3 separate regions of the Homo sapiens genome follow, and regions 1 and 3 are each linked to region 2. The links are contacts of gene promoters, found by promoter capture Hi-C in blood cells and fetal thymus (Javierre and others, 2016). All regions are on one chromosome and are shown on one strand. The core of a region is centred on a gene start or on the middle of the fragment in contact, and the rest is flanking DNA. Distances in the headings are between cores, read along the strand shown. Region 1 overlaps FMN1 (formin 1). Region 2 holds the start of GREM1 (gremlin 1, DAN family BMP antagonist). Region 3 overlaps FMN1 (formin 1).

What was found. Contacts are between HindIII fragments. The CHiCAGO score rates a contact against its expected background, and 5 or more counts as called.
Region 1: a fragment that was not itself captured here is called in contact with the fragment with the promoter of GREM1 in region 2 in 4 of 17 cell types (M0 macrophages, M2 macrophages, M1 macrophages and 1 more); the score reaches 12.1 in M0 macrophages.
Region 3: a fragment that was not itself captured here is called in contact with the fragment with the promoter of GREM1 in region 2 in 6 of 17 cell types (M2 macrophages, M1 macrophages, M0 macrophages and 3 more); the score reaches 11.1 in M2 macrophages.

Annotation. Positions count from the first base shown.
Region 1 is chr15:32,959,662-32,962,361 of GRCh38, forward strand. All of the region lies in intron 9 of FMN1 (formin 1), which reads right to left. Among named protein-coding and RNA genes, the nearest start is that of FMN1, 230 kb to the right of the region's middle. The HindIII fragment of the contact is 6,719 bases long and covers 1-2,700 here.
Region 2 is chr15:32,716,697-32,719,485 of GRCh38, forward strand. GREM1 (gremlin 1, DAN family BMP antagonist) reads left to right here and starts at 1,308. Exons shown (of 2, transcript NM_013372.7): 1 at 1,308-1,465. GREM1-AS1 (GREM1 antisense RNA 1) reads right to left here and starts at 2,169. Exons shown (of 2, transcript NR_109767.1): 1 at 1,849-2,169; 2 at 1,405-1,668. RefSeq lists enhancers at 814-1,314, 1,452-2,030, 2,031-2,608. The HindIII fragment of the contact is 6,086 bases long and covers 1-2,789 here.
Region 3 is chr15:32,940,868-32,943,657 of GRCh38, forward strand. All of the region lies in intron 9 of FMN1 (formin 1), which reads right to left. Among named protein-coding and RNA genes, the nearest start is that of GREM1-AS1, 220 kb to the left of the region's middle. The HindIII fragment of the contact is 4,431 bases long and covers 1-2,790 here.

The sequences.
Region 1 (2,700 bases), core at 124-2,623, 240 kb after region 2:
GACAGAGAAACAAAATAAATGTTATCAAGTACTAACTGCCTTAAACTCCTTTGTTGAACAGGCAAACTATTATAAGAAAAGAAATAATAAATGACCAAATGCTTTGATGTTTAAAAACAAATATTCATTCACCAAAACAGAAGTGAATAGTTCTATGAGTAAACAACATGTTTTCAAGCATCTGGAGAGAAACAAAAAGAGTAATAGCAATCTAAGAAGCAATAAAGAACAAAAGTAAATTTAATACGATCCTGCATAAGAAAGCATTCAGAGGAGATTCTGGTGAGTTCAGGCAAGCCTTCCTGAAAGAGGCAAACTGAAGTTGGCTTTGGAATATACAGATTTTCCTTTTGCCATTCAGGTAGAAACAAGTCTTCTGCTTCTATAGATGGCATTTAAAAAGCCAGCCTGGCTACAAAGCAGGCTTACCTCCATCTCATATGAATCTAATTGCATGGGAATACATTCTATGTAAATCAGCTGACCTTTTTTTGCCCGGATTTGTCTGGAACTTACTATTTGTATTAATCCATTTTCGCACTGCTATAAAGATACTACCAACATGGCAGCAGGAGAGAGAGGGTGGGGTGAGAGCGGCACCAGAAACTTATGGAACAACCAAATCTCGTGAGAACTCACTCACTATCAGGAGAACAGAAAGGGAAATCCACCCCCATGATTTAATCGCCTCCCACCAGGTCCCTCCTAGACACGTGGGTACAATTTGACATGATATTTGGGTGGGGTCACAGAGCCAATTTATTAGAAAAATTCAAATTGTTCCATGCAATATAGCCTTTTAAAATTTTCCTTTAATACTTCTTTGGATATTTTTCTCAAGACAACACAATTACAGTGACCTTGAGAAACATTTTGATCATGATTTTTATCCGTAATTGAAGTCAGTGGGAAAATCTGATTTGATTAACAGAAAACTGAATTCAGACATTTTCCTTTTTTCCCCTGTAATTTGCAGCTAATTTCATAATCATTACATTACTTGAGAAATGAACTGATGATGAACCCCATGATGTAATTTAACAAGGAAACGTAGCCTGGCACGGTGGCTCACGCCTGTAATCCCAGCATTTTGGGAGGGTGAGGTGGGCAGATCACCTGAGGTCAGAAGTTCGAGACCAACCTGGCCAACTTGGTGAAAACCTGTCTCTACTAAAAATACAAAATTAGCCGGGCATGGTGGTGCATGCCTGTAATCCTAGCTACTCGGGAGGCTGAAGCAGGAGAATTGCTTGAACCCCAGAGGCAGAGGTTGCAGTGAGCCGAGATCACACCATTGCACTCCCACCTAGATGACAAGAGTGAGACTCCGTCTCAAAAAAAAAAAAAAAAAAAAAAAAGGCAGGGTTGATGGTATCATTCAATATTACATACTTTTCAAAACACTGCCTCAAACCTGCTTAGATGTGAATTTCACAACATACTGGTGGGTCAGGTAGATTCAGATATTGTTCATCTTTTTTTTTTTTTTTAGACGGAGTTTTGCTCTTGTTGCCCAGGCTGGGGTGCAATGCGGCAATCTCAGCTCACTGCAACCTCTGCCTCCTGGGTTAAAGCGATTCTCCTGCCTCAGCCTCCCGAGTAGCTGAGATTACAGGCGCCCGCCACCACACCTGGCTAATATTTGTGTTTTTAGTAGAGACGGGGTTTCCCGAAATTGGCCAGGCTGGTGTCGAACTCCTGACCTCAGCTGATTCACCCACCTCAGCCTCCCAAAGTGCTAGGATTATAGGCATGAGCCACCGTACCCGGCCTGTAATCCTTTTTTATAGAGAAGGGAAAATACGACAAGGAAGACAACCAGCCCAAGCTCACATAGCAAGTCAATAGCAACACAGAGTACTATACTTTTTCCTCAACACCATTTCTGCTACTATTAAAAATAAGAAAAACTAACCAACCAAACAAAAACCCACTAAAACAGGGAAATGGTAGCCGTAGTAGTAACAGTAGCAAAAACAAGAGCAGCTGTCATATGTTGAGCACTGACAGTGAGCCAGGCACTATGCTGAGCCTGATACATGGATTACCCCATTGAATAATTACTTAGAGAACATTATGAGCAGATATCATCTCAGGCTATGGTGCAGGGACCCAGACACAGAGAGTGAAAGGACCTAGTACCGTTGCCTCAGATCTCACAGTCAATGTGTGGCAGAGGTGTGATTCGTCCTCATGGTTGTCTCTGACTGCCTGACAGTCCTAAACTCATTCTCTTACAGAAAGCTGGTGCCTCTCAAGTTTTTGAGTCCTTGAGTCACTACTCAGAAGCCACCGTCATAATGAGGTCTACCCTGAACACCCCATTTAAAATTGCAGACCTCACCCCCACCCTACTAAAGTCGACCCTCCTTCCCCTGCACTACTATGTGATTGACAGGGTTTATGTTTAGTGTTTGTTAATATAAGCTCCACAGGGCAAGGATTTATTATTATTATTATTATTATTATTTTACTTTTATTTTTTGCCCTCAACACATACCAATGCTTAAGACAGTGCTGTCCAACAGAGCTTTTTATACAATGGAAATGTTTTACATCTATGCTATCCAATACAGCAGCCACTAGGCATAAGAACAAAATTGGAAAGTCGAAAACTGGCTAGCCATATGTAGAAAGCTGAAACTGGATCCCTTCCTTACACTTTATACAAAGATCAATTCAAGATGGATTAAAGACTTA
Region 2 (2,789 bases), core at 58-2,557:
GATGTTTCTTGCTTCTTCCCCCTAACGCCGGACTAAAGAGAAAAAAAAAATAGGCTGTTTTCTGGTCTGGTTTTGTTTTCCTAGTCAAGTACTTAAATTACGGGTGTTTCGTAAGTATCTTTTGATGGATTTCATTGTTTTGTTTATTTCGCGTTAGACAATACAGACACCTTCATATTTCCTTCTGTAGCAAATCTTTTTCAAAGTCTTCATTTGACGTGGCTGATGGAGCTGGTCTGCAGATCTTGCAGACGTGTTAATTTTTGCACGGACTTTAGCTTCAACACACAAAACTTACGGCCTCTTTGAGGAACCAATTTTTCAGGCTAAGAGAACAAATGAAAGTGTTCGCTCATCTTTCGAAAACTATTTATGTACTTGGTATCCGGAATGTGACATTGGTTTTACACGTCGGTAGGTTTTTGTCCTAAATTTCTGGGAAGTTACTTCCTCATCTAACGTTTTATTTTCCTGACTTATTCGTCTTTGATATGCTACAGAAAACCCCTCTCGCCCAGTGGCTGTTTTCTCTCTGTCTCTTAAGATAATTTAGGAACAGAAGCCTTGACTTTTGACGGTCATTTAGTTTTATTCTCCTCCCGTGACTCCCCTCTGTACACTCACAGGGGAGGCCGCCGGCATCTGGGCTGAAAGAACCCTTGGCGGGCGAGGAGAGCAGGGTGTCATGTTGGCGACAGGCTCCTGCTGGCGGCCAGCGAGCCCGCCAGGTTAACGGGGGCGCCGGGGTCAGCGCCCTCGAAGTTGGGGGCCTCGGGCGGGGCCGCCGGGGAGCCACGACGGCCGCTCGACCAGAGCATCCCGCAGTCCCGTTCCCTCCAGAGGGGAAGAATGGCCGAATCTGGCACGATCCCACGGAGATCTCGCTCTTCCCAGCGCAGTCTCCGCTACTGAGCGCGGGACCAACGCAGGCGATGCCGGGCGGCCGACAGGGAAAGCCCAGACCTGGGGCAGAGAAGGAATGAGGGGCCGCCAGCCGGGGGGATTTCCTCCCGCTCTTCCCTCTCCAACGGGAGCGGAAAATGTGATTTGCTGTGCATTCCAGGCGCGGTTCCCTGGGGTGACCTCTCCCAGCCGGCCCGGGCGGGGGGAGCAGACAAAGAGGCGAGGCGGGCGGAGAGGGGACCCCGCGGGGAAGCAGGAGGGGTGCGGGGGGCGGGGGCAGTACCGGGAAAGGGGGCGGATAGCGGGTCTGGCGGCGGCGGCGGCGCCTGGCCAATGGAGAGGCGCGGCCCCGGGCGCCGCGCTCTGCCGCCGGCATTTAAACGGGAGACGGCGCGATGCCTGGCACTCGGTGCGCCTTCCGCGGACCGGGCGACCCAGTGCACGGCCGCCGCGTCACTCTCGGTCCCGCTGACCCCGCGCCGAGCCCCGGCGGCTCTGGCCGCGGCCGCACTCAGCGCCACGCGTCGAAAGCGCAGGCCCCGAGGACCCGCCGCACTGACAGGTGAGCGCGGACGCACCCGGCAGGGATGTGAGTGGGCGGAGGGAAGAGGGCCGCAAACCAACCCAGGACCCGCTCAGTTCCACGCGCGGCAGCCCTCCGTGCGCGCAGGCTCGGGTGCGTTGTTCGCGGGGGTGAATTGTGAAGAACCATCGCGGGGTCCTTCCTGCTGAGGCCGCGGACACCGTGACCTCGCTGCTCTGGGTCTGCAGGGAAACGTAGGAAAAAAAGTTGTCAGGAGCGGGCAGGATGACCCCCACATCCCGTTTCCACCTCCCGGAGGCCCCCGAACACGCTCCTGGTGCTGGTGGCAGCAGCGCCTGGCAGACGCGCCCGCTTAGCGAGGGCGCGAAGTCCAGGCCGCCAGAGCGCAGGAGCATCCGGACCTGCTAGTCGGCCGCTGACTGCGCGGCGAGTTGCCTTGAGAGGGTCCCATGTGCTTGGGGCGCCGCGCTGGGTCTGGGGGCGTCTTGGGGCGCCCATTGGAGTCCGCGGGTTGGAGCATCCGGAGAATCCATGATGTGTGCATTTGCCGATCCCCGAGGTGAGATGGAGACTGGCAAGGGCAGAGCCGCTGTGTTCAGCCACAGCGGAAAACCGAACGGTGGGTAATCCGACAGCTGCGGTGCGGGGCGCGGCCCTGGCCGCGGGGTCCAGCGAACCCGCAGTGCTCACAAGGCAGACACCACACGCGCTCGCGGACCGGCCACGCACTCGCGGGCGCTCGCTTCTCTACTCCAGCCTCTTCCCCGCCCCGCGCACGCCCGGGCTGAATGGTAGACGTTCTGGCGCCGGGCAGCGGCCACCGGCTGGTTCCCACTTCCGCGCGCACCCCTTAAACTGTGTTCTAGAGGCCCCAGCCTCGCCTTGCAGCGCCTCACTAGCTCCTGAGGACTAGGGACTGGCGGCTGAGGCGGGTTGGCGGCTGCAACGAGCTGGGCGTCTTTCGTTCTCTCTCGCTGCCTGGCTGGCTCCGCTGGCCCCTCCACAGCTTGCGGAGCAAGGCCATAGCAGGGGAGTGGGAGGTATATTGGGGCTGTCACCTCCTTGCTGGCCGGAGTTATTTGTAGACTACAGACTCCGGAAGAACAGACGCGCCACCGCTCTCGCTTGGCATTGCCTTCGGATCGCAGCTCCTCCTTGGGGGTGCCCCAGCTTGGCGTTTATTTGCCTGCGCCAGGCTCTGGCGACGGTCACCGGGCCAGGCGGGGAGGGACGGACGGCAGGTGACCAGCCTCTGCTGTGAAGAAATTCCTGCGCGCCCGGAGCTGTCCCTAATGCATTCCCGGGTCGAATCCGTCTACTGCCTTCCCCTCCTCGACCGACT
Region 3 (2,790 bases), core at 103-2,602, 220 kb after region 2:
AGCAGAGGCTTTCACAAAACCATGAGGTCAGTTTATCACATTTGATTGTTAGACGTTAGTGGGATTCCTGACTGTATTAGCATCCAGCTTCATCATATTAAAAGGAGTTAGTTAGCTTGCCTTAGGTAAATAACAAAGGAAAGGTTCCCCAAAAGCCCCGGCCCACAGGTTAGTGCCTTATCCCCACGTAACATAAAAAGCAGCCTGCGAAAAAAATCAAGCTGCAGGAACCAATAATATGAATGTCAAAATAATTATTTTCCATGTTTACGTGAAGCCAGTAGATAGAATTTATGCTTTAAGCTCCCAACTTGATTTTATTCCATGTAGGTTCTTGGGGGGAAAAGTGGCTACTACAGGCTGTTCAGGAAAGATAGTTCAGAAAACATTTACTGGAGAGTGTAAGTATTTGTAAGATTTTGCTTATCCAATGTTACTCTGGTTGAATTGGATTTTGGAGTCATTTAACACTTAGCACTGAAGAAACCTACAAATTTCATCTAATTTATCCCTCTGCCTTTGGGTTGGCCCAGAAGTCCACGTATGTAAGTATAGACCTTACTTTACAAGAATGTGCACACTTCATTATAAAGGTTACATTTAGATAATGCACACATTTATAGCCATTTTCTCTCAAACAATACAACAGAGCACTACTTCAGCTAATTGTAAATACAAATTAAACTGTTCATTCCACTCCTAGTCTATGATCCCTTATCATACTCACTTTTCATTCTTCTTTGTCCTCATATGCATATTACCTGATGTGTAATAATCCTCCAAGTCATTTTCTAGTATTAAGAGACTTTTGGCAGTGAACTATTTTACCTGATGTTTGGCTCAAATTCCTCATGCTCCCATTTTGAACCATCTTTTTCTGCTCTCAGGGAAGGTAGGAAACAGCTGGTCACCATCCCCTACACTAAGCTCCTTCAGAAACCTCAAGATCACCATTTTTTTTTAAACAAGAGATGTTTTATATCAGATTGTTAAAAATCAGTTTTTGAGGGACGTTAGCAAGCCCTCACTTTATCTCCGCCCTATCTAGAGTCAGCTGAACTTGGCAGCACATGGCTTTCTCCTAGGTATAATTACAGTCTGGAGGAGAATGCAATTTGTGCAGCATTCCACTGACCTACAAGCTGACCTTGTGCAGGGGCAAATTCACAGGTTGCGTTAAACCCTATTAGACATGCCTAGTTTAAGGCAAAGCCTTTCCAGACCCCTGCCACATGCCAGGATTAGGGCATGTCACACGTGCGTACTATTACATCGCCTAAGGGACTCTCCCAATGCCTTCCAGAGTGGGAAAGGCAGGCCCACACTGTCTAAACCTGTACATTAAGCCAGTATAGACAAATTATTATTATTCCTCACATATGTGAATTTTTTTAAAGCCTGCCTCTGTGAATAAGAATTAAGACAAAAATGGGAAGACAGATTTGCTACACTGGGAAAATCATACCTTCAACCTCAGCTAGAAAAGTTCTGCCAGACAGGCTGAGAAAGAATTCTTGTCAGGTCCAGTGGGATTTTTACATCTACAGAAAATCTGTACACTGTATATCTTCGGCTTTCTGCCTGAGCTTGGCAGACAGGGCCAAAAATAAAAATAAATGGTTCTGAATAGACCACAAGTGCTGGAAGTCTGCTCAGCCAAGTGAGTTTGGCATAGCTACAAAATTAAGAGAAACACAGAAGCCCTCTTCTTCCATGGAGCCTTCCCTGTCTGAAAGGAAGATGATTAATTTCTACATCTACACCTTTGCTAGACACCAAACACATTCATACCTATACCAGATCGAGTGCATATTTTGCTCTTTGGCTTAAGTTTCACATTTGAACATACTCAGTTCCAGTCACAGGGTTTCCATCTCCAGCACAGTCAGTTTTATCCTAGAGCCTGGCAAATAAGCAGAGAGTTTTTTCAAATACAGCCACATGTGCTATCACCAATGAATAGCTGCTGGCACTTCAGGGAACTAAGGGCATGTGAAAGTTGCTGCTTTTCCTGTCTGAATCAACTATTTCACCCCACCAAAAACAAACAAATAAATGTAGAAACCATATATATATGAGTAGACATTTACTTTCATGACAATGATATACAGGTCGAGCATCCCAAATTCAAAACTCAAGAACTCCAAAATACGAAGTATTTCAAAATCCAGAACTTTTTCAGCGCTGGTACAGTGCTCAAGGAAAATGCTCAGTGGGGTATTTCAGGTCTTGGATTTTCAGATTTGGAATGCTCAACTGGAAAATTTGAAATCTGAAACGTTTCTGGTCTCAACCATTTCAGATAAGGGATACTCGACCTGTATACCAAATATCCACATAGGGTACACGGTCAGCTATATAGAACAAGTGTGTAAATGATCTGGCCTTTCTTGGTAAGATTGAACAACAGCGTGGAGAATTCACATAAATTAGACAATCTGATTCTCCCAAGTACAATTCTAAAAAATACAACTTCTATTTTTGTGCCATCAAACTAGTGTTATCTCTTGCTTATGCTTCACATCAATACTCGCTGAATTCCACCACCTGGCCAAACTATGGACATTAAGAGGCTGGTTGGTAAAAAGTAGATATGCTACTGATGACAAGTCAGCTTGTCTTAGTAACAGTCATCCCACTTCTAAGTCATGGGCTTCCAAATAGATAAAGGTACCTTCATAATGACTGTTATGTTTCTCTTTAAGACATTCTTGTGGAGTGGGTTGGAAGACACGTAGAATCCTATGTTAGAGATGCAGAAATTGTTTCACTTATTCAAGGGCTACAGGC